Regions from separate parts of the Homo sapiens genome. Here all the other regions are linked to region 2. The links are contacts of gene promoters, found by promoter capture Hi-C in blood cells and fetal thymus (Javierre and others, 2016). All regions are on one chromosome and are shown on one strand. The core of a region is centred on a gene start or on the middle of the fragment in contact, and the rest is flanking DNA. Distances in the headings are between cores, read along the strand shown.

Region 1 (3,328 bases), core at 566-3,065, 180 kb before region 2:
ATTCTTATCTTTCGTGTTAGAGATTTTCTTCAGTTGTTTGATAATTCTTAGCTGCTTATTCAATTTTTATTATTTATTTGTTTATTTATTTGAGATGGAGTCTGGCTCTGTTGCCCAGGCTGGAGTACAATGGCACGATCTTGGCTCACTGCAACATCTGCCTCCCCAGTTCAAGCAATTCTCCTGTCTCAGCCTCCCAAATAGCTGGGATTACAGGCACCCGCCATCATGCCCGGCTAATTTTTGTAGTTTTGTAGAGACAGGGTTTTACCATGTTGGCCAGGCTGGTCTTGAACTCCTGACCTCAGGTGATCTGCCTGCCTCGGCCTCCTAAAGTGTTGGGATTACAGGTGTGAGCCACTGCACCTGCCCTTATTTATTTATTTATTATTATTTTTTTGAGACAGAATCTCACTCTGTCGTCCAGGCTGGAGTGCAGTGGCACAATCTCGGCTCACTGCAAACCTCCGCCTCCCGGGTTCAAGCGATTCTCCTGCCTCAGCCTCCCGAGTAGCTGGGATTATAGGCGCTTGCCATCAGTGTGGCTAATTTTTGTATTTTTAGTAGAGATGGGGTTTCACCACCTTGGTCAGGCTGGTCTGAAACTCCTGACCTCATGATCCGCCCGCCTTGGCCTCCCAAAGTGCTGGGATTACAGACGTGAGCCACCGTGCCCGGCCATTTATTTTTTAAGAGATGGGGTTTTGCTGTGGGGCTCAGGCTGGATTCAAACTCCTGGGCTTAAGTTATCCTCCTACCTCCAAGTAGCTGGGACTACAGGCTCATGCCACTGTGTCTGGCTTCTGTTTATTTTATTTTATTTATTTATTTATTTATTTATTTATTTATTTATTTATTTGAGACGGAGTCTCGCTCTGTCGCCCAGGCTGGAATGCAGTGGTGCGATCTCGGCTCACTGCAAGCTCCGCCTCCCAGGTTCACGCCATTCTCCTGCCTCAGCCTCCCAAGTAGCTGGGACCACAGGCGCCCGCCACCACGCCCGGCTAATTTTTTGTATTTTTAGTAGAGACGGGGTTTCACTGTGTTAGCCAGGATGGTCTCGATCTCCTGACCTCGTGATCCGCCCCCTTCAGCCTCCCAAAGTGCTGGGATTACAGGCGTGATCCACTGCGCCCAGCCTTGGCTTCTGTTTATTTTTAAGAATGTGACACTAAGAAGCTCATCAAGTGGTGGACCCTACTATAGGGTATTGGGATTACAGGCACCCTGGCAGGCTGGTAAAAGGACTCCTCCAGTCCCCTGCCTAGAGAGTATAAGCCAGTGGCAGGTGTTTGAGTGTAAGTCTGGCTGCCAATGTTTTTGGAGCCAAGTGAGAGAAAGGAGCTGGGGAGGTAGGAGAGGTCTCACCGTTGACTCATTAGGCTTTTCACTTGATACCCTTATTTCCGTCACTGCCCTTAGCTGTGACTAGTTCCTTTGGACTCTTTGGTTCAGCTTTTCTTTTTTTTTTTTTTTTTTTTTGAGACGGAGTCTCACTCTGTCATCTCTAGGCTGGAGTGCAGTGGCGCTATCTTGGCCCACTGCAACCTCTGCCACCCGGCTTCAAAGGATTCTCCTGCCTCAGCCTCCCAAGTAGCTGGGATTACAAGTGCCTGCCACCGTGCCCGGCTAATGTTTGTATTTTTAATAGAGGTGGGGTTTTACCATCTTGGCCAGGCTGGTCTTGAACTCCTGACCTCAGGTGTTCCACCCACCTTGGCCTCCCAAAGTGCTGGGATTACAGGCATGAGCCACCGAGCCTGGCCTGGTTTAACTTTTCTAATTTGCCTGGCAGCATGGGGAGGGATGGAGGAATCCATTTGTTATACAGACTTTTCTTTTTTTTTTTAAGATGGAGTCTTGCTCTGTTGCCCGGGCTGGAGTGCAGTGGTGCAATCTCAGCTCACTGCAACCTCCACCTCCCAGGTTCAAGCAATTCTGCTGCCTCAGCCTCCCAAGTCGCTGGCAACTACAGGCATGAGCCACCACAATCGGCTAATTTTTTTGTATGTTTAGTAGAGACGGGGTTTCACCAGGTTGACCAGGCTGGTCTCGAACCCTTGAGCTCAAGTAATCCACCTGCCTCGGCCTCCCAAACTTCTGGGATTACAGGTGTGAGCCACCGTGCCAGTCCCAGACTTTCAACCAGTCCTCCTGTTTAGCCCCTTCTACACTATCACCCCATCTTCCCGAGGTACCAGGTGCCTCTAATTTCTGAGACGTTTTGATTCAGAAGTTCATCTGTGGTGGGAATCTGCTTGCTTCTTCCCACTGCAGTGTTTTGTTTTTTTTTTTTACTTTTGTGAAGTTATTTATCACTAGTGCATTTGCTTTTTACCTTCCAAAACTTTGTTGACATCTCTCTCTCTGCTGTCTCCTTTCCCAGTTTTTTTGCTTGTTGTTTGGTTTATGTCTTTATAAAAAAAAATCCTGGCCAGGCACGGTATCTCACGCCTGTAATCCCGGCATTTTGGGAGGCTGAGGCAGGCAGATCACGAGGTCAGGAGATGGAGACCATCCTGGCTAACACAGTGAAACCCCGTCTCTACTAAAAATACAAAAAAATTAGCTGGGCGTGGTGGCAGGCGCCTGTAGTACCAGCTACTCGGGAGGCTGAGGCAGGAGAATGACATGAACCCGAGAGGTGGAGCTTGCAGTGAGCCGAGATAGCGCCACTGCACTCCAGCCTGGGCAACAGAATGAGACTCCGTCTCAAAAAAAAAAAAAAAAAATCCTTTTGCTGTAATTTTAATGGTGTTTTATGATGGAACATTGATTAATGCATGCAATATATTATGTTTAACATGTTATTCAACATATTCATCAGCTTTTCCTTGCCAATATCCATTCAGACACCACAGTGTCTTTACAGTTGATTACTAATACTCCTTTAGCATAGTGTTTTCTAGACTTCCCTAACACCAAGAATCACTTAAAGTGCTTGTTGGATATACAGATTACCAGATCATTCTCCTGGAAAACTTCTGATTTTAGTTGGTTTAGATTAGCGCCCAGGGATCTTTTTTTAAAGTGTGTTTGTTTTTAAACAAATGCCCTAAATATGTCTTATCTTCAGGCAAGTTTGGAAACCCTGCTTTAGAAGGATTCTTTTTAAACCATTAATGCCATCTTACATCTCCATGGCAAACTCCTTAGCCTTCCCCTAATACTGCTTTTGTATTCAGACTCTGTTTTAGCCTGTCTAGCTTTGGTCTGGATTTCTGAATTAGCATGTGTGTCTTTCCTCTGATTAACTCCCCTCTTTAGTATTAAATGTTGGCTGATGGTAATAACTTTGGGCTTGTGTGACTTCATTTTTTTTAGTCAG
Region 2 (3,481 bases), core at 598-3,097:
TTTGTTGTCCGCAGCATTAACTGAAAGAAAATAAAATATACATTTGTAAGAAATTAGTGTTTTAAGAAACATTCTGTAACTCTAAGTAAGATATAGAAAAAAAAGTTCCCAAACAGCACAGGAGTGGCATTAACAAGGTGTTAATTTAGCAATTTTTGTCCATAGTACTGTTTCTACGAGAAGCTCAACCTCCTGGGCTCCAGGAAACCAGCTCACCTTTATCAACTGATTGAAATGACAGGAGCCCTGGCTACAGCAGGTTTGGTAGAAATGATACTTTTTGTTTTTACTTTTATCTTTTTTAAATTTTTATTTGGAATGATACTTCTTATGAAAGATTTGACCAGATCTTTATATTAAAGGATTTACTCACCTAGAATCTCATCAAAGATTTTGTACAAACCAGGAACAAAAGTGACTTCCCTATAGTTAATGCCAACATCTTCATCGTAAACCCACATTTGCTAGAAATAAGGCAAAGAAATACTGTTATTTTTATTCTATATTCATTGTTCTGTTATCATGATTACCATAAAGTGTTCATATTAAGTATTACCATATTTAGGCCAGTTCCAGTGACACTCAGTACATGAGAGATACAGAAAGGTCACACTCAGTACATGAAAGGTACAGAAAGAAGAGTATCCATTTCAACTACTAGGTTAACTGCCTTTGATGAGCTTGATTTTACCTGGGTCACTAATTCCACAGAACCAATGTAGGTGTCTGGGCGGAGCAAAATATGTTCCAATTGTGTTTTCTTTTGATAGATTCTTTCAACAGACAGTCTTTTCTTAGCATCTTCATTTTTCTTTATTTTGTTGACTTGCATATTTTCATTTACAGGCTAGCAATTAAAAAAAAAGAGAGAAAGAAGGGAATTTTTAATCATAAGTTTACCCTAAACTAGGAACAAAATGCCTACCATAGTGAGATGTCAACATGCATTGCAATCTGTTAGTAGGCAGTGGTGGAGTTGCCAGTTTTGTACAAATAGGACAATTTAAATTCGCTGCGGCCAGGTCCCCAGGTGTCAGGTTAAACAGACACATATTATCTCACCAAGTGGGTCTGTCTGGAAACCTCTTTTCTTGAGCAACATGGTAGATGTCATCAATAAAATACACCCACTTCTTTCAGTTCCTGCATACATTATTTACCGAGTGCCTATTATTATAAATTATTTACGGTGTCCCGAGCACACGACACCGTAAATAATTCTAGTTCGGCAGCAGCAGTTTGGGCGGCTATCCGTTCAATCCCTTGGCCACCTGAGCGTTGTGAACTCAGGAAGGGGGCGCTTTTGTAAGCTGGCCAGCTGCTCCAGAGAAACACTGTGCTAGGCTCTGCCCTTTCCAAGATCGGGGACATTCAAGACCGTTTTCAAGCAGCGGGCAGGAGGGGAAAGCATCTGTACGCGCGACTCAATAACGTCGCACCCGGGCCGCTGTAACATGGATCCACTACGGGACCAACGGACTCCTGCCCCTAGAAACAGGGCAACAACGCACGACACCCTGGAAGCCGGGTCATACTTCACTACTAGCACCAGAAGGGGCTTCCGCCTCTCCACGATCACCCCGGAACCGGGAATGGAGAATATGGGCTCCCAAGCCGGTCGCCGGCCTGACCGCAGCCCCAGAGCTTCACCCGTCACGGGCGGCCAGAGAGATGCCCGGGCCGCGCGGAGGCTCCACCGCCAGTCCCCCCCGCGAGCCGTACCTGCAATGGTGACACTTCCATGGTGACGGTCGTGAAGGGGCTCAAGAACCCTGAAAGCGACTAAACAGGCAGGACCCCACGAGACCACCCCCGACCAAGCCGCTTCTCCACAGACGCGCGTCGGTTAGGAGAGCTCCACTTGAACCTTCCTTTAGCCCGCCCGAAGCAGACCAGCCAATCCCTGACTCGCTCTCACCGTCTCCGTCCAGAAGAACCAATCGTAGCTTGCCTTTTATATCCACCTATGAACGGCTGAGTTGGCCGGGGTTTGTTTGAATAAACCAATCAGGTTAGGGAGGCGGGACTAGAGAGGCTTCAAAAGGCACCACTCGGCGTCATAGCGGAGAGATTGACAGGGAATCTGGCCAATGAGAAGGGCTCACTTGTTTTCTCGTGCGGAAAGCTTGGAAGAGATGGGCTTTGGAAGCGGGAAGGGGTGGCCTGAGGCAAAAGTGTGCAGGAGAAAAGCAAAGGATGTTTATTCTCCAGGAACTGCCAATCTATTTAAGATCCCTGAAATCTAAAAACTGTCCTCTGTTCTGACGTTGTTAGCGAGGGGAATGGGAGCCTTAGCTTCGTTTTCCTGAGGAAACTGAGTGCCGGCTTTCTGGACAGGCAGCCTGGCTGCTTGGTTGAAGCGAACAGATTCTGGCATCTGCCTCAACCCCGCCCCCTTTACCCTCGAATTCATTTTTCAAAGAAATAAAAGTAGGCTGTGTGCGGTGGCTGGAGTCTGTATTCGCAGCACATTGGGAGGCCGAGGCGGGAGGATCGCTGGAGCCTAGGAGTTGGAGACCAGCCTGGGCAACATAGCGAGACCCCGTCTCTACCCAAAAAGGAAAAAAAATAGCCAGGCGAGGCATCGCACACCTGTAACTCCAGCTCCGGAGGCTGAGGAGGGAGGATCGCTTGAGCCCCGGGGATCGGAGATCGAGGCGCCTTGAACCGTGATTGCTCCACTGCACTCCAGCCTGAGTGACAGAGCGAGGCCACCTCAAGAGATAAATACATAAATAAATAAATAATAAAAATAATTAAAATAAAAGTGCCACAGTTGTGGTTTGGGGGTTCCATATAGTGGAAGGATGTAGAAAGGCTTTGCAAAATGGAGGGCAGCATTCAGGTCCCCAGTAGAGCAGCGCTGGACTGCAACTGGTAAATCGAAAGGGATAACTTGTGGTGGTAGCCTCTTGAGCTGAGGGTGGGCTCAGCCGTCCGGGGCTGAAACCTTTTCCGCAGCCAGCTGGCCAGATACCCTCCGACTGGCTACTTTTGCTCACCTCCGTGAACCCTGCAGTCCAGAACAGCTGTTCCAATTTGACAAGGAAATGCCAAGACTGAAGCTTTTTTGTTTGCTTGTTTTTTTGTTGCTTTTTTTTTTTTTGAGATGGAATCTCACTCTGTCGCCCAGGCTGGAGTGCAATGGCGCGATCTAGGCTCACTGCAACCTTCACCTCGCGGGTTCAAGCGATTCTCCTGCCTCAGCCTCCCGTGTAGCTAGAATTACAGGCGCCTGCCACCACGCCTGGCTAATTTTTGTATTTTTTTAGTAGAGACAGGGTTTTGCCATGTTGACCAGGTTGGTTTCAAACTTCTGACCTCAAGTGATCTGCCCGCCTCAGCCTCTCAAAGTGCTGGGATTACAGGTGTGAGTCACTGTGCCCGGCGAAGACTGAAGTTTTAAAATTACTCTTACATATAAATGTTTGAGTGGATTAAACAAAGTTATTACCCTTACAAGAAGCCAGAAAAAAAAAAA
Region 3 (3,537 bases), core at 421-2,920, 240 kb after region 2:
ATGCTTATGTGCAGTATTAGTTGTATATTTCTGCATAACAAATTATCCCAAAATTTAGTGGCTCAAAATAATAATCACTTATTATCTTTAGAGAACTATTTTTTTTTTTTTTTGAGACACAGGGTCTCACTCTGTCACCCAGGCTGGAGTTCGGTGGCATGATCTTGGCTCACTGTATCTTCCACCTCCTGGGCTCAAACAATTCTTCCACTTCAGCATCCTGAATAGTTGGGACTACTGGTGTGTCACCATATTCGGTTAATTTAAAATTTTTTAATAGAGACGAGGCCTCACTGTATTGCCCAGGCTGGGCTTGAACTCCTGAGCTCTAGCAATCCTTCTGCCTAGGCCTCTCAAAGTGTTGGGATTATAGGTGTGAGCCACTGTGCCTGGCATAGAGAACATTTTTATACTTTAGACACTGTGCTTGGCATAGAGAACATTTTTTGTACTTTAAAAGCTATCATGACAGAACAGTTCAAATTGGGTGACTCACTGGGAAAGAATAACTGTTCTGGAAGCAATTGAAAAATTAAAAATAGTATCTTTACCTGTTGTGTTTTGAACTATTAATCATTGTCCGCTGTAATTTCCCCCACACATTCTTTAAAGACAATTTTCTTCCAAATAGTACTGTATATCTGAGCAGTGCTTTAACAAATATTTTTGCTTGTATATTATTTCAAACAACTGTAAGGTAGGTAGAGTAGGAATTATTATCCAGCTTTACCTTTTCCTTTGTTTTCAAGTGTAAAACTTGAGGCCTAGGAACTTAAAGTGGCCCCTCCTGGTTACATGGTTAGTGACAGAGCCAGGGTTAGGATCCTACAATTGTTAGTAACTGGAATTACTCTTTATTTTTGTATTTTTTTATGGAAGCATGCATTTGAAACATTTCAGAGAGATTAAAGAATATTAATTTCTACTCATGTGTAAAGCAAGGATAATATTATTCATTTTGTAGGATTGTTGTAAGGAAGGATTAGGGATTATTAGGGATAAACACAGTGCCTAGAGCTGAGTAAGTGCTTTGCAAATGGTGCTGCCATTATTAAACTTTTTCCAGAACTATGGGATTATGTGATTATTTTGATTTTTAAAAAACTAGAATAAAATATTGATATACCATTCTTAACTCTTTTGTAAAACAAGTTAAAAACCATTATCTATCTACTGTGATTGCAGTTTTCTTTATTCCCCAAATGAACTAACCATACTGGAGTAATTAGTTCTTTGTTTCACTTAACCATGCAGAGATATTTTTGAACTAAAAGGACTGCGTTCAAACTCACATACAATGCAGCTTTAGCATTCATATTTCAATTTTTTCAATTTTTAATTTTTATTTATTTTTACTTTTTAGAGAGATGGGGTCTTGCTATATTGCCCAGGCTGGCCTTGAACTCCTGGGCTCAAGCAGTCCTCCCACGTTGGCCTCCCAAAGTGCTGGGATTACAGGCATGAGCCACCGTGCCTGGCCATGTTTCATTTTTTTAATTGTAGTGGAATCATTACCTTGGTAAATTCATATCCCAATTTAAAATGCCCCAAAGCAAATAAAGCTTCATTATAAATTCAAATACTGTATTTTAAAATCTACATGTTATACACCCAATAGATGCATACTGGAATTGCTACAACAAGCAGTTACATTCATGACGACCAGTACTAAGTTTTTTTTAACACTGCAATAGATTATGCTAGATATATTGCTTTATTATGATCACTGTTGCTTAGTACAGTAACTTTAGTACAATAGCTTATATGATTGCATTTTTAAAGCTTTAATAAAGTTAGTAGCATTTAGCAATATCAAATGAAACATTTTTTATGTATAGGATGTATTTTAGGTCAGATGCTTATGCAAGAATAAGCACTTAACATGCTGTTATATCCTTGACAAAACAAAATCATCCCTTTTCACTAAATAGAATAAACCAGACTAAAAGGAATCTGAAGTAATTGAAAGAAAATTAAAAATTTTATATCCCTGTATTATGTTAAAGATTATTTAACATAATATTTTCCTGGTTAAAACATACATTTTTCTGGTTGAAATATATATATACATATATATAAATTATATATATGTATATATATAATAAGTATATATGGAGAGAGAGATAGAGGAGAAGAGAGAGGAGAGAGAGAGAGAAATATTTTAAAGGCTGTACTAAAATGCTAACGTAGCTATAGCCCTTAGATGATACTTTAGCTGGGAAAAAGTATGGTGAGTTGTACTCAGCTACTTTTTCTGCTTAGAAAAGAATTAAGAACTTATAAATTTCTAATGTCTTAAAACAGGTATTTATTAAGATCTTAAATATACCTGTATTAAACAAATTAGGTTATTTTAAAAACTTTGCAACAATACCTCACTTATTCACAAATATATTTTCTACCCATATTTATTACAATTTGAACGATTTAAAAACAAATCCTCTAAATACTCTTAGCTTAGATAACAATACCGTTATCTTAGTTCACATAAATGATTGCAAGAAATATTTATAATACTTCATATAGTATCTTATCTACGGCTTATAGCAAACAATCTAATCACATTTAGCTTTACAGTTGGAAAAACTGGGATGGTGGGTAACTGTTCTGATAACTATAGTAACTACCTTTTCAATTTGCTTTTCATGTTTTGTTTGCGCAGTTGGCCTTCTGATTTTTTTTCTTTTTTTGGTGGGGGATACAACCTTTAAAGTTCCTTGAGTAAAGTAAATCTTCCGGAAATCAGATACTTATTACAAAAAAAACCTTTTAGATATATGTAGATTAACTTAATTGTACTTATCTCAAATTAGCCCTGGGGTGTGTTCTATAGTTTGCTCAGAATTTCTCATGGAAAATAACTCATTTTTCTCAGTATACAAATGATTTATCTCAAAAAGAAGAATCCTCATTAGGTGAATAGTGAGTCCCCCTTTAAAAACTTGTTTATAATTGCTCTTTTTGAAAAATAGAACAAACATTGTAGGTTTAACCAGTCATGGAATAATGGTGAATAACTCAGTGTGACTCTTAACACAATCCTATTCAAACAATTCTTTTTTCCTTAGCGTATTCAGCCATTGAAAAAAATTACAAAGACTTTACTAAACCAGGTTAATGCTTACAGTCTCTGATGAAGTTTCAAGGGAAAAAGAAGACTATTGGGAGAATATAAAGAAAGAGACTGTACTGGATTTGTGATTTTATTTTTAAGCTACTCCCTCTCATTCATATATATATATATATGTCTATCTCCATAATTAGATTCAGAGAAATGTCCTTTATTGTTTTTTTCTTCTGAAGAGAACCACATATTGATCATAACATTTTCCATACATACGTAATAACTTACATTTTGGGACAGAGGGAGTTGGTATGGCCCACCTTGGTCCATCCTAACATTTTCCAATCAAGTCAAATACTATCTTTGGATTAATTAGCTGTTGATGGAGGTTTGATAGAGGGAATACTGCATGATCTTCTCATGATAAGCCTGACTTCTATATCTGGTAGATTATCCTGCTTAGTCTCTAAACA
Region 4 (3,713 bases), core at 758-3,257, 210 kb before region 2:
AATCGCTACACTTTGGGATGCCAAGGCTAGCAGATCACGAGGTCAGGCAATCAAGACCATCCTGGCCAACATGATGAAACCCAGTCTCTACTAAAAATACAAAAAATTAGCTGGGTGTGGTGGCACGCACCTGTAGTCCCACCTACTCAGGAGGCTGAGGCAGGAGAATCACTTGAACCCAGGAGGCGAGGGTTGCAGTGAGCCGAGATCATGCCATTGCACTGCAGCCTGGACAACAGAGCGAGACTCCATCTAAAAAAAAATAAGAGGTTTAATTGACTCACAGTTCCACAGGACGTACATGAGGCACGGCTGGGGAGGCCTCAGGAAACTTACAATTATGGCAGAAAGGGAAAGGGGAAGCAAGTAATCTTCACATGAGCAGGAAAGAGAGAGCAGAAGGGGAGGTGACACACACTTTTATTTATTTATTTATTTATTTATTTTGAGACTCACTCTGTCGCCCAGGCTGGAGTACAGTGACATGATCTCAGCTCACTGCAATCTCTGCCTTCCGGGTTCAAGCGATTCTCCTGCCTCAGCCTCCTGAGTAGCTGGGATTACAGGCATGCATCACCATGCCTGGCTAATTTTTGTATTTTTGGTAGAGAAAAGATTTCACCATGTTGGCCAGGTTGGTCTTGAACCCCTGACCTCAGGTGATCCACCCGCGTTGGCCTCCCAAATGCTGGGATTACAGGCGTGAGCCATGTGCCTGGCCAGTGCCACACACTTTTAAACAACCAGATCTCATGAGAACTCATTCATTATCACGGAATCAGCAAGGGGGAAATCTGCTCCCATGATCCAGTCACCTCCTGCCAGGTCCCTCCTAACATTGGAAATTACAATTTGACATGAGATTTGGGTGGGGACACAAAGTCAAACCATAGCAAGGAATGAAGTACTGATATATACTACAACATGGATGAACCTTGAAAAAACTGTGCTAAAAAACCAGACACAAAAGGCCTCATATTGTATGATTCCATTTATATGAAATGTCCAGCATAGACAAATCCATAGAGACAGAAAGTAGATAGTTTCTGGTTGCCATGGGCTGGGGTGAGAGCAGAATGGGGAGAGGCTACTAATGGGTATGGAGTTTCTTTTTGGGTGATGAAAATGTTTTGGAATTAGATAGTGGTGATGGCTGTACAACATTGTAAATATACTATATACTCACTTGGATGCTTTAAAGTGGTTACAATGGTGAGTTTTATGTTATGTGAATTTTATTTGCTTGGCTTCTAGACTCATCACACCAGTCTCTGCCTCCATCATTACAAGGCATTCTCCTCTGTGTGTCTCTCTGTGTCCTCTCTTCTTCTTTCTTTCTTTTTTTTTTGAGATGGAGTCTCACTCTTGTCACCCAGGCTGGAGTGCAGTGGCATGATCTTGGCTCACTGCCACCTCCGCTTCCCAGGTTCAAGTGATTATACTGCCTCAGCCTCCTGAATAGCTGGGATTACAGAGGCCCGCCACGACGCCCGGCTAATTTTTTGTATTTTTAGTAGAGATGGGGTTTCACTGTGGTCTCGATCTCCTGACCTCGTGATCCGCCCGCCTCGGCCTCCCAAACTGCTGGGACTACAGGCGTGAGCCACTGCGCCCAGCCTCTCTTTTCTTTTCTTTCTTTTTTTTTTTTTTTTGAGACAGAGTCTTCCTGTGTCACCCAGGCTGGAGTGCGGTGTCACGATCTCAGCTCACTGCAGCCTCTGCCTCTGCATCCTGGACTCAAGTGATCCTCCCACCTCAACTTACTGAGTAGCTGGGACCACAGGCGCGCACCACCAAGCACAGCTAATTTTTCTGGATTTTTAGTAGAGACGGGGTTTTTATCGTGTTGCCCAGGCTCGTCTCAAACTCTTGGCCTCAAGCTATCTGCCTGCCTCGGTCGGCCACACAAAGTGCTGGAATTACAGGTGTGAGCCACCACGCTTGGCCAATTGAATGTTTTTAGATTTTATATAAATATTATCATACTGGATGTGGTGTTCAGCAACTCCCCATCCACAACACTCTGCCTGTGAGGCTCATCCAGGTCAGCATATATTACTGGTTTGTTTGGTTTTGCTGTTCTGTGTTTCTCTTTGATTCTCAACCCAGTGCATCTGGCTTTCTCTGTCATCACTCACATAATCTGCCTGGGTCAAGAGCACCGATGACTCCCATGTTACCAAATCCAAGAACACTTATTTTCCTATTGCTGGCATTTGATATTTCTGACCATTCTTCCTTCTGGAACACTTATCGCTGCTTCCAGGATGCTACGTTCTCAGGATTTCCCTGTCTTCTCTTTCTCAGTCTTCCTCACTGGCCTCTCCCTCAGCCTGGTCCTTGTATGTGGAGTGCCCCAGCTCCCTCTTGAGCCCTTTTTTTTTCCTTCCATAATCCTGGGCTTAGATTTCATCGTCATATTTGTGTTTGGGAATCTACTGCTGCATAACAAACAGTTCCAAATTTAGTAGCTTAAAAATGACAACTTTGTTTTATTTTATTTTACTTTTTATTTTTTTTTGAGACAGAGTCTTGCTCTGTCGCCCAGGCTGGAGTGCGGTGGCATGATCTTGGCTCACTGCAACCTCCGCCTCCTGGGTTCAAGTGATTCTTGTGCCTCAGTCTCCCAAATAGTTGGGATTACAGGCATGAGCCACCACGCCCAGCTAATTTTTGTATTTTTAGTAGAGACAGGGTTTCACTATGTTGCCCAGGCTGGTTTTGAACTCCTGACCTCAGGTGATCTACCTGCCTCAGCGTCCCAAAGTGCTAGGATTACAGGTGTGAGCCACTGCACCCAGCCTAAAAACAGCAACCATTTTATAACTTCTCATGATCTTCCGGGCTGATGGGAGCTTAGCTGGATAGTTCTTCTGGTCTCACTTGAGGTCTCTCTTGCTGCAGTCAGAAGGCCACTGGAGGGCCAGGTGCAGTGGCTTACGCCTGTAATCCCAGCACTTTGGGAGGCCGAGGCGGGCGGATCACCTGAGGTCAGGAGTTTGAGACCAGCCTGGCCAGTGTGGCAAAACCCCATCTCTACTAAGCATACAAAAATTAGTCGGGCATGGTGGCTGGTGCCTGTAATCCCAGCTTCTCAGGAGGCTGAGGCAGAAGAATCGCTTGAACTCGGGAGGCGGAGATGGCAGTGGGCCGAGATCGTGCCACTGCACTCCAGCCTGACAAAGCGAGACTCAGTCTCAAAAAAAAAAAAAAAAAAAAAAAAAAAAGCCACTGGAGCTAGCTAGGATGCTAGCTCACATGTCCTGAGCCCTGGTGGGAACAAAGGGACCACAAGGATGGCTGGACTTTTCTCTCCATGTCCAGGCTTCTCCCTCCAGGTGGTCTCTGCAGCAGAGTACCTGATTTCTCACATGGGAGATGACTCCCAAAAGCAAAAAAGTAGAAGCTGTCAAGTCTTTTTACAATTTAGTCCTGAACCTGGTACAGCTTCAATTCTGCTGCATTCCACTGGTTAAGAGCAGTCACAGGCCAGCCCCACATTCAATAAATACCAGGACTCCTGGTTCACTGGGAGCCATCTTTGGAAATTAGCTACCACAGTTTATGAGTCCCAAATTCCTAGGATTACTCTCCTCAGTTTCAGACCCAAATATCCAGTGATCTAAGGAATCTCTCTTCTTGGTCATTCCACTGTGCTATTCGGGCTCCTCCAGTGCCCCAGCCCCTCCTCTTGCTCTGCAACTGTTTCCAGC
Region 5 (3,678 bases), core at 498-2,997, 180 kb after region 2:
ATTCATCTTTATCACCAACACCTAAGGTGACACCTGGCACATAGTCAGTGCTCGTTAAAGGTGTGCTGAACTTTGAAACGAAGGGTTGCCTGTTGGTGGTTGAAAACATTTTTTTTTCGAACCTTGTTAAGTTTGAAAAGTTCAATCCCCAGTGCCAACATGCATATAAATATAGGTGCTTTCATGCTCTGTTGATGGGAATGTGAACTGGTTCAACTTTTCTGGAGAGTCATTTGGTAAACATTTAGGAGAAGTCTTAGAATTTTCTATGCCTTTTGACTGAATTCTTTTTTTTTTCTTTTCTCCTAAGGAGTTAGTGAATGGCTTTTCATAAAGACATTGTATTTTTTCATAGCAATGTTTTTAAAAATTATAGCAAAAATGGGGCCAATATTAATATGAATTTGGATAAATAGTGGTTTATATGCAATAGAATGTCATGTAGCCATTACAATTGATGATATATTTGTTAATCAAATAAGTAAAGTGACAAAAACATTACAAAATAGGAAGCATAGTAGGATTTCAATTTTGAAGGAAAATAAGGCTCTATCCATGGAAAAATGCCTTGAAGGATATACGTCTAAGTGTTTCAACCCTTTTTCTCTAGGTGGTGGGATTTTAGGGGATTTTGACTTTCTTCTGTTCATTTCTCTGAGTTTTCTCAATTTTCTCCCATGTGTTACAACGAACATGCATTACATTTAGAACATAGAAAAACATTTTCCAGCATCTTGAGTTGATTCTCTAAGTAAATTCCTTGCTCCTTAAATTCTGAAAACTGTAGAGACCAGATCAACGTGTAGGATGTCAGAGGTGGAAAAGCTGTGGGAAGTCCTTTGGGCCAGAGTTTTGCAAAACTGGCTGTGCGTGAGAATCACACGTGGGGCTTTCAGAACTCTGGCTCTGCCCATACCCAGTGGCAATAAATCAAAGTCACCAGGGATGGCTGCAGGCGTCAGAGTGGTTTAAAGCTCCCAGGTGATTCTAATATGCAGCCTAGTTTGAGAACCCTGCTTTTGAGTTGTGCTGTCTAACAGTAGCCACTAGCCACACGTGGCTATTTAAATTATGCAACACTAAATAAAAAATTCAGTTCCTTAGTCAAAGTAGCCACTTTTTTCTTTCTTTTTTTTCTTTTTTTTTTCTTGAGACAGAGTGTCACTCTGTCACTCAGGCTGGAGTGCAATGGTGCGATCTTGGCTCACTGCAACCTCTGTCTCCCGGGTTCAAACAATTCTCCTGCCTCAGCCTCCCAAGTAGCTGGGACTACAGGCACCCGCCACCATGCTCGCAAAGTAGCCACATTTTAAGCACTCAGTAGTCACATGTGTGGTTAGTGGCACTATATTGGGCAGTGCAAGTTAAGATCTACCTCTCACATTTCAGGAGAGGGCTGGGCATGGTGGCTCATGCCTGCAGTCCCATCACTTTGGGAGGCTGAGGCAGGAGGGTTGCTTGAGCACAGGCATTTGAGACCAGCCTGAGCAACATGGTGAGACCCCTATCTCTACAAAAAAAAAAAAAAATTAGTCAGGCATGGTGGCACGCACCTGTAGTCCCAGCTACTTGGTAGGCTAGGGTGAGAGGATCGCTTGAGCTGGGGAGGTCAGGGCCGTAGTGAACCATGATCATGCCGCTTGCGCTTCAGCCTGGGCAACCAAGTGAGATTCTGTTTCAAAAAAATTTTTTTCTTTTTTTTTCAGGAAAGGCTTTTGCAGGTGGGTGCCCTCCTTCTAGCAGGCCTGAGGCTCAGGGAAGGGGCAGGCCTCTGTTCTTGCCTGTTTTAGGGCGGTGGAAAAGACCTCACTCGGCCGTCAGGAGAGTAATCTTGTGCCTAGAAAGTTCTTTCTGCTTTCTCGTGTCTACCCCATCCTCCTCCCTGAGCATGGTGAAGCTCAGTGCAGCATGTTTATTTTCAAAGGCTTGACAGGCCCAGGCCCTTCCTATCTGTTCAGCCTGGTCCAGGCCACCAGGCAAGCTGTTTACAAGGGATCCAAGTGCTCGGTGGAGAGCAGAACAGGCCGAGAGTGTTTTCCACGGCTGCCGAGAAAGATGAGCGAGTGGAGGCAGAATAACAAAAAGCCACTTCAAAAACACACCAGAAAAAGTCACAAAGCAGAGACAATCAGAGGTTTGAGACACACACACCCCCAAAACCCTGACAAGAGAGCGAAAACAAGTCATGAGGGAGCCTCTGATGGTTTCAAGACAGTCGCGGTTGCTGATTGAGAACAGGCCTGTCCCAGCAGTTCTCAGAGGAGTCGGGAGCTGCGGCTGTGGGGGGTCAGAAACTTCACCTGAGTTCTGAGAATTGTGGTGGGACAGTCCCTGAGGGCTCCGTCTCTCTGGGAAGATGGTGGGGGGCGGGTGAGAATGGCAGGCCCATGCTGGCTGGGTGAGAGTGTGAGGCTGTTCCAGCCTAGAGACTGGCCACCGGTCAGGAAGCAGAGTCCCACCTGGCCCCAGGCTTCTGGCACCTACTGCCTGAGAGCGTGAGGCCTCTATGGCCATAGTCCACCTGGGAATTCAAAGGCGTAAGGCCACCTGCATCTAGGAAGCTCCTTCTTTGGGATCTGAGCTGAGGACCCAACAGTGAAGAAGCCAAGCCAGAAGGGAAACGCTGGTGCTCCGCTCCACCTTGCCCCATTTTGCAGTGAAGTCCAGTGAAGAGAGCCCTGGGGGTGGAGCACTGGAGCTCAGGTCCCAGGCACTATCACTCCCTTGCTGTGTGACCTTGGGCAGGTCAGTTTACCCCTTTGGACTTTAGTTTCTTGACCTGCAAATTGGAGGGTTGGTCTAGATGAATGGCTTTCAACCCTGGCTGAATATTGGAATCACCTGGTGAGCTACAAAAATCAACATGATGCCAGTTGTTCTGGGATACACCCTGGGCATCAGCATTTTTAAAAGCTCTTCAGATGATCCCAGGCCAGGTGTGGTGGCTCACGCCTGTAATCCCAGCATTTTGGGAGGCTGAGGCGGGCGGATCATCTGAGGTCAGTTCGAGACCAGCCTGGCCAACATGGTGAAACCCTGTCTCTACTAAAAATACTAAAATTAGCCGGGTTTGGTGGCATATGCCTGTGCACGAGAATCACTTGAACCCAGGAAGCAGAGGTTGCAGTGAGCGGAGACCGTGCCACTGCACTCCAGCCTGGGTGACAGAGTGAGACCCCGTCTCAAAAAACAAAACAAAACAAAAAAAGAACCATTAGTCTGCCTAATGCTTATCAAAATTTAGAGTGCACAGGAGTCTTGTAAAAATTCGAGTGGAATTCAGAAAGTCTAGCATAGAGTCTGAGATTCCACATTTCCAACAAGCTCCCAGGCGATGTCCATGGACCACACCTTGAGTAGCAGCAAGTCTGTGTTGAATGTCCCCTTCCCTTGAACTTGCAAGTTGGATCCAAGCTCCAATCTACTCAGTCTGCTACTGTTCTTGTTTTGGTAGCTGGCTGTAGTTGCCTATTTCTGCCAATCTGCCAATAACATCATTGTTTCTAAGTTCTTTCTTTCCCCCCACCCTCTCTCACAAGAATTGTTTAAATCCTCACTCATCATTTGAATTCTAATGAGATGCTGTGGATTGAATCAAATAGGGATCTTCCCTTCAAGGGCAGTAAATAAGAGACAGAGCCAGGCTGTGATGTGAGTTCAAAATGGGGCAGAGGTCAT
Region 6 (3,348 bases), core at 312-2,811, 230 kb before region 2:
TAACAAGACTCTGTCTCTAAAAGAGATGCAGCATCTGCGACCCCACCCCGACCTGCTGGTCTTGTTCAAATCAGCATTTGGACAGGACCCCCCAGGGGACTCCTATGCCTACTAAAGTTTGGGAGGCACTAGCTGGGCATGGTGGTGTGCACCTGTAATCCCAGCTACTTGGGAGGCTGAGGCAGGAGAATCACTTGAACCGCGGAGGCGGAGGTTGCAGTGCCGAGATCAAGACACTGTGCTCCAGTCTGGGCAACAAGAGCGAAACTCCGTCTCAAAAAAAAAAAAAAAGTTTGGGAGGCACTGGTCTAGGACTCAGGTTCTGATCTGAGTGCTGCCCCTCACTCACCTATGGATTGTATTCTGATCCTTTAACCTCCCTGTGTATGTAAGGATGCCACATTTCACAGGCTAAAGACACAGGATGAGTGGGAAGGCAGAAAGCCAGCAATGTCACTGAAGCTTTGTTTTCCTCTACAGTAGGAAAAAATTTCAGCCTTCCCAGTGTCACAAGGACAACAGAGTAAGAGAAAAGCTGTGAAAGAAAGGGAGTAGAAAAAAAGTTATAAATGCAAAAGAAATAATCATTTGACAAATTCCAGATAAATATGGCATAAACTAGTGATAAGATGAGTTCCATTAGTCTAGAATGTGTCAGTGTGGGGTGAGGAGTTTTTGGATAGGACAGTGTCAGTGTGGGATGTGTGAGGGTGCAGGCGGCAGGGGCCGAGGATGAGCAGCTCTTTCTCCTGCAGAGAAGGTCCTTCTCCAGCCCACTGAGGACTGTGTTTTCACCGCACTGGGCATCAACAGCCACCTGTTTGCCTGTACTCGGGACAGCTATGAGGCTCTGGTAAGAACTTCCCAAGGCCTTGACTGGAATGGAGGGCTGAGGAGGGCTGTGAGCAATCCCTCACCCTGCCACCAGGAGCCCAGCCCCTATGCCCCTGCCTGCCACCAGGTGCCCCTCCCCGAGGAGATCCAGGTCTCCCCTGGAGACACAGAGATCCACCGAGTGGAGCCTGAGGACGTTGCCAACCACCTAACTGCCTTCCACTGGGAGCTGTTCCGATGTGTGCATGAGGTGGGGACCGAGGCTGGTGCTATGCTGGGGGGCTGGAGGGAGAAATGTGCCATTGGGAGACGGTGTTCGCAGCACAACGTCCTGGTTCCAAGGCTCACTTGCAGCAAGCCCTTGGGCAACGCATGGCCGTAACCTTTGTTCCCCCATCTGAAAAAAATCGCAAAGAGAGAGACCCCAGAGCACAGTGGCTCAGGGCCCAAGTGCTGTTTACACAGAACCTGACCCAGGATTTCTATTTTTAAAATATTCACTATTAAAGAAATAAAATAAGGCAGAGACAATAATGCCTAGCAGATGGTTGTCTTGAGGATGTCAGCCGTGAGCGAATGCCTGGCACCTAGTAAGTGCTCAGTAGCTGGTGAAATATTATTAATGCTGGTTGTTTTCTTTTTCCGCATCTTTGCCGCCTCCTGTCCTTTCTATTTTTCTATTTTCCACCCCTTCCGCCCCCGCCCTCCTGCCTTTCGCTCCTCATCGCCTTGCACTGCCATCTTCCCACCCACTCCCCTCACCCCCTGGCGCCCTGGCCGCCCCTCCGCTGCCGTGGGTGCAGCTGGAGTTCGTGGACTACGTGTTCCACGGGGAGCGCGGCCGCCGGGAGACGGCCAACTTGGAGCTGCTGCTGCAGCGCTGCAGCGAGGTCACGCACTGGGTGGCCACCGAAGTGCTGCTCTGCGAGGCCCCGGGCAAGCGCGCGCAGCTGCTCAAGAAGTTCATCAAGATCGCGGCCCTGTGAGTGCGGCCGTCGGCGGGATGGGGGGCCGGAGGCCGGAGGCCCGCGCCGCCGCCCGCCCCTGACCCCGCCTCCCACCCCCGCAGCTGCAAGCAGAACCAGGACCTGCTGTCTTTCTACGCCGTGGTCATGGGGCTGGACAACGCCGCTGTCAGCCGCCTTCGACTCACCTGGGAGGTGATGAGACCCCTCCCGTTCCTACCTGGGAATCTGGGCATCCCGGGCTCCCCGAAGTGCGTCCTCCCGGGACGGCCGCCGGCCTGGAGGGAGTCTTTGCGCCAGTTGGAGGGAGGCGCCCTCTTCTGGCATACGCAACCCCAGGGCGCACAGCTTGGCTAATGGACCCTGTCTTTGTGCAAATTAGTGAAAAGCCCGGATCCCGCCTGAGTCACGGCAGGCAGCCCTTGGCCAGGTCAGGTCGCAGACTTGGCTGTGGGAGTTGGGCTGATTTTCATCCACACTCAGTGGGGGCATCTTTATACAAAGCACCTGCATAAGACAGACCTGGCCTTCCCCAGAATAATGAATTCCTCTGGGCTGTTTCAAGCCTCTAGACTTAGCCAAGGCCTGACTTCATTTCCCCACCCACCAGCTTCCCAGCCCCCTACAAGCCATGCAGGCCCTTTTGCCCTCCAACAGGGAGAATTAATCCGAGGCTCCCATGTAACCCAAGGAGCTCCACTCTGATATCCCTTCTCCTTCCTTCAAACTCTGCAGAAGCTGCCAGGGAAATTCAAGAACTTGTTTCGCAAATTTGAGAACCTGACGGTGAGTGGGTTTGGCTCTTTCTTCTGCTCTTGGACTGAGAGCCCAGAAACCCTCTGTTCCCATAAACCCCCTTCCTCAAGCTTTCCTTTCAAGGTGTTTAGTGTATGGGACCCCCCACCCTCCTTACCATGCTGGAGGGTGAGGTTGGAAGGATTGCGCCCCTGTTTTTCTTGAAGGAAAGGGGGAGTAGTCAGGTCCCTCCCCACCACACCATTAGAAAGCCCCCAGCACCCCTATCTGATCAGGAATGTATACAAGGCAGGGGGTGAGGGAGGAAGCTGAGGACATCTTTGGGATGCATTGGCCAGTCTGTCCCTTGATCTCTCTCCTGTGGAATACTAGGACCCCTGCAGGAACCACAAAAGCTACCGAGAAGTGATCTCCAAAATGAAGCCCCCTGTGATTCCCTTCGTGCCTCTGATCCTCAAAGGTGAGAGAGTTACTCCCAAGCTGTGCCGCTTCCACCCATGCTTCCCTTCTCCTATGCCCTGCTTCTGACTTCCAGCTCCCTCTCGACTCAGCCCTGAGTACCCACCTGGAGAGGAGCCCCCCACCACAGACGGAGTGGGTTCTGGGGAAGAGCGGGGTCCTCGGGTGCAGTGGCCCCTTTCGAACTCCTCTCTTATCCTTTCCTCACATTGGATTCTCTCCACATCCCCTAGACCTGACTTTCCTGCACGAAGGGAGTAAGACCCTTGTAGATGGTTTGGTGAACATCGAGAAGCTGGTGAGTGAGTGGCACTGCAAACCCCTAGTCCCACAA
Region 7 (3,598 bases), core at 1,099-3,598, 160 kb after region 2:
GACACAGGGTGGGGAATATCACACACCGGGGCCTGTAGTGGGGTTGGGGGAGGGGGAGGGATAGCATTAGGAGATATACGTAATGTAAATGATGAGTTAATGGGTGCAGCACAGCAACATGGCACGTATACATATGTAACAAACCTGCATGTTGTGCACATGTACCTTAGAACTTAAAGTATAAAAAAAAAAAAAAGAATGGGCACCATTGTGTCCAAGGTGTGCTGTGGATATAGTTTGTGTCATAAGTGAAGGAGAGCTCTCTGAGTTCATGTTCTCCAATTGGAGTGCCATGGACACTTCAAAGTATCTGTCCAAAGAACATGTTCATAAGAGATGCCAAAAAGCACTGTGCTTGTTTATATCCGGGGCATCTTTGGGCCACTTGGTCTTTAGTCTTCCAAAGACTGATTGCCTTATGGAAGTAGAGACTGTTCAACATGGAATACTTAATAAGCAGGTGCTTAATAAACATTTGATTGATTGATGAAGGGACTTTAAACTTTTCCAAAGATGCTACCGCTCCCTTTACCCCTGTCTGGAGAATGCCTTTCTTCCTTACTTTCAAATTTCCTTTGTTGGACACTGACTGCAGATCCTGGTATCGGCAGTAGCTTGAGTATCATGGCAGAGCAGAGAACATCTTGCTCCTAAGGAATGGACTCTAGGGTACCTGTTTTCACCTGCAGTGTTGTCATTTATTCATTCAACAAATATTTAGTGAACACTATGTGCCAGGCGTGGTGCTGGACTCTACAAATACAAAGATGAACACACATGGTCCCTGGCCTTGCCAAGTTTACATAAAGCACTGTGGGTGTATTACTGTGCTCCGGATGCTGTACCAAAATACCACAGGCTGAATGGCTTAAGGTCCAGCAGGGTTGGCTTCTGGTGAGGGCCCTCTTCCTGGTTTGCAGATGGCCACCTTCTCCTTCTTGCTATGCCCTCACATAGCCTTTCCTTGGTGCATGTGTGAGGGGAGAGGGAGGGTGTTCTCTGGGGTCTCTTCTTATAAGAACACATCTTATTGGATCAGAACCCCACCTTTATGCCCTCATTTAACACTAATTATATCCTTAGAGGTCCTATCTCCAACTGCAGCCATATTGGGGGTTAGGGCTTTAACATATGCATTTAGGGGGGACATAAACATTCAGTTCATAAAAATGAGGCACATGAACAAATGAAAAAGCAATTACCTGTAAGCAGTAAAAGCATAAAAACAAGCAGGAGGTAGTATACACTAAATTTAGGATGGGGAGGGAAGGGGATGCAAAGAGAGAGAGGTATGCAGGGGCTTAAACTGGTATTTGCTATATCTACTGGTAATGATTTGTCTTCATTCAAGACCTACAAAAGTCTTCATTGTATTATTCTTTACACCTTTAAGTATTAATTATTTCACAATATTTAAAAAATAATAGAAGACACTATTATTGTGCAATGTAGTAAGAGGTAACTAGGGGGGCATGCTCAACATGCTGTAGGAGCACATAGAAGGGGAATCAGGAAGGGTATAAAAAAGATGGCATCTACAGAGGAGTAGAAGGGGCCCAGGTGCAGGGGGAAGGCAGTGGTGAGTGGTCAGTAGAAGGACCAAGGCCAGGCTGGGAGTGGTGGTCCATGCCTGTAATCCCAGCATTCTGGGAGGCCAAGGTGGGAGGACTGCTTGAGCCCAGGAGTTTGAGTGTAGTCTGGGCAACATGGTGAAACCTCATCTCTCCAAAAAAATCCAAAAATTAGCCGGGTGTGGTGGCGTAGGCCTGTAGTGCCCTCTACTTGGAAGGCTGAGAGGCAGGAGGATTGCTTGAGCCTGGGAAGTCAAGACTGCAGTGAGCTGTGATCAAGCCACTGCACTCCAGCCTGGGCAACAGAGCAAGGCCCTGTCTCAAAAAAAAAAAAAAAAAAAAAAAAATTACCAAGGCCAGAAGTCTTGCCGGGCTGACCTCAGCAAGCTTACTTTCTCTGAGTTGCTTAATTTGGGAATTCAGAAGACAGGGTGAGCTATACTGTTTAACTTGGCTTTTGGGGTGATGTGGCCTGTGGGGCCAATGTCTGGCCTTTTTTGCCTGCTCAGTGGTGTGGCTGTGTTTGGCACGTGAATTATGTTTGACTTTGGCCATGTCTTTGAAGGCAATCTCTCTTTGCTGCTGTGGCATCTAGAACAGGTGGTGTTTACAGCGTTTCCCAGAATTGCCTGCTTCCTAGGACTTTACCTATCCATTTGTCCCTCTATTCATTCATCCAGCATCCATTCACTGAGCACCTACTCTGCCAGGTATTAGGCCAGGTGCTAGGGCTTGAAGGCCCATCAACCTAGTCCTGGGCCTTGAGGAGCTTGACAAGCAATGGAAAATAGCATGGGCATCCACATCTCCAAGCACATCCTTATACCTCATCTCATTTAGCCCTCGGGCTGCCCTGTGTGGCAGGTTTCCATTCTATGATTGAGGAAGCTGAGACTTGAAAGGAAAGTGACTTGATATTTGACTCTAAGCTAAGGGGCTTTTCCCACTATGCCAGGCTGCCTTTACTGATGTTGGGCATGGTCGGAAGAGCTCAGACCACGGCTGCCCCCTCTCTTCCTGGGAAAGACACCCTCAGACAGGTCTTTACATCCCATCCTGTTTTACGAAGGTTTCTGAGAATGAGCAGGGAGAAGGACCTACAAGTAACCTTTATAGTCATTCAGTCCAACCACCTCACTGATGACTTGGTTACCCAGAGGATAAAGAAAAGCTTAGCTTACCAGAAACTCCAGCCCCTGTTATTATGAAAAAGAACAGGACAAGTCTTGAGACCCCTAGAGGAGGCCTCTGATCTGGAGAGAATCGACAGAGGAGCCAGACCCAGAGTCCCCTGGAGGGAGCCAGGTCTGCAGAAGCTCAGAAACTCAGTCCTGCCTTTCTTGCATATGGAGTCCATGGTCATAGTAGCAGTGTCCTGGCTCTACCCAGAGTGTCCAATGGCTTCCTGTCCCTCTGGACTTGTCATTTAGTGGGCAAAGTCCAAGATCACACCTCTCACTCCTGCCCCCACCTCTTGCCCCTGTTTTATCTCACTTGGGAATAATCTGTTCCCATGTGAAGCCAACGAAAATGAGCCTCCACCAGTGTGGGGTAACCCAACAGGCAGATTTGGTATGGACACAGGGCCCCAGCCAGATGAAGACATCCCAAAGTTGAGAAGAGTTCAGTAATCAGAAAATCTAAAAAGATGCTCTTTTAATTTCAGCACACATGTACATTTTGTGTTGTCTGGTGAGTATTAGGAATTATATTTGGAGAGAGACTGCAATCTTTATAGGGTTCAGGGCCTTTTAAGGTCTTACTCGGACCTTGGACAACCAAGAGGGAAAGGGCCAACAGGTGTGAGGAAAATAAGTTGTGAGGCTGCAGGGAGGAAGAGGATGGCTCACCAGGATGAAGAAAAGGGAAGGAGAGGAGCTCTCAGTGGTGCAATTGGTTAGCGTGTGGCACTTACATGAAAAGGGAAGGAGGGCTTGGCACAGGCTAGCGGGAAGCCTCAGGTCACCCTGACACCTGTTGCCATGGCCCGGCGGCGGTTTCCTGACTTGTCAGGACGTGTGCACAGA

What was found. Contacts are between HindIII fragments. The CHiCAGO score rates a contact against its expected background, and 5 or more counts as called.
Region 1: a fragment that was not itself captured here is called in contact with the fragment with the promoter of TOP2A in region 2 in 1 of 17 cell types (neutrophils); the score reaches 7.9 in neutrophils.
Region 3: a contact is called between a fragment that was not itself captured here and the fragment with the promoter of TOP2A in region 2, in 1 of 17 cell types (total CD8 T cells). The highest score is 5.9, in total CD8 T cells.
Region 4: a contact is called between a fragment that was not itself captured here and the fragment with the promoter of TOP2A in region 2, in 3 of 17 cell types (neutrophils, M2 macrophages and monocytes). The highest score is 8.0, in neutrophils.
Region 5: a fragment that was not itself captured here is called in contact with the fragment with the promoter of TOP2A in region 2 in 1 of 17 cell types (naive CD4 T cells); the score reaches 5.3 in naive CD4 T cells.
Region 6: a fragment that was not itself captured here is called in contact with the fragment with the promoter of TOP2A in region 2 in 2 of 17 cell types (neutrophils and M2 macrophages); the score reaches 8.0 in neutrophils.
Region 7: a contact is called between a fragment that was not itself captured here and the fragment with the promoter of TOP2A in region 2, in 2 of 17 cell types (endothelial precursors and total CD8 T cells). The highest score is 8.0, in endothelial precursors.

Annotation. Positions count from the first base shown.
Region 1 is chr17:40,238,231-40,241,558 of GRCh38, forward strand. The region is part of intron 1 of WIPF2 (WAS/WASL interacting protein family member 2); the gene reads left to right. Among named protein-coding and RNA genes, the nearest start is that of WIPF2, 21 kb to the left of the region's middle. The HindIII fragment of the contact is 5,946 bases long and covers 1-3,328 here.
Region 2 is chr17:40,416,049-40,419,529 of GRCh38, forward strand. TOP2A (DNA topoisomerase II alpha) reads right to left here and starts at 1,848. Exons shown (of 35, transcript NM_001067.4): 1 at 1,723-1,848; 2 at 692-847; 3 at 374-464; 4 at 1-20. The coding sequence starts at 1,743. RefSeq lists enhancers at 1,507-2,032, 1,754-1,843. The HindIII fragment of the contact is 7,280 bases long and covers 1-2,123 here.
Region 3 is chr17:40,652,970-40,656,506 of GRCh38, forward strand. KRT222 (keratin 222) reads right to left here. Exons shown (of 6, transcript NM_152349.3): 6 at 1,696-3,537. The coding sequence ends at 3,433. Among named protein-coding and RNA genes, the nearest start is that of SMARCE1, 6.9 kb to the left of the region's middle. The HindIII fragment of the contact is 220 bases long and covers 1,561-1,780 here.
Region 4 is chr17:40,206,041-40,209,753 of GRCh38, forward strand. No RefSeq gene overlaps it. Among named protein-coding and RNA genes, the nearest start is that of WIPF2, 11 kb to the right of the region's middle. The HindIII fragment of the contact is 6,806 bases long and covers 1-3,713 here.
Region 5 is chr17:40,600,849-40,604,526 of GRCh38, forward strand. No RefSeq gene overlaps it. Among named protein-coding and RNA genes, the nearest start is that of CCR7, 37 kb to the left of the region's middle. RefSeq lists an enhancer at 1,889-2,148. The HindIII fragment of the contact is 4,168 bases long and covers 1-3,678 here.
Region 6 is chr17:40,189,679-40,193,026 of GRCh38, forward strand. RAPGEFL1 (Rap guanine nucleotide exchange factor like 1) reads left to right here. Exons shown (of 15, transcript NM_016339.6): 7 at 756-853; 8 at 962-1,084; 9 at 1,638-1,816; 10 at 1,904-1,994; 11 at 2,535-2,585; 12 at 2,928-3,015; 13 at 3,248-3,312. Among named protein-coding and RNA genes, the nearest start is that of MIR6867, 2.2 kb to the right of the region's middle. RefSeq lists a silencer at 1,804-1,863 and an enhancer at 1,984-2,063. The HindIII fragment of the contact is 2,203 bases long and covers 461-2,663 here.
Region 7 is chr17:40,578,906-40,582,503 of GRCh38, forward strand. No RefSeq gene overlaps it. Among named protein-coding and RNA genes, the nearest start is that of CCR7, 15 kb to the left of the region's middle. RefSeq lists enhancers at 3,319-3,458, 3,479-3,598 and a silencer at 3,487-3,598. The HindIII fragment of the contact is 784 bases long and covers 1,957-2,740 here.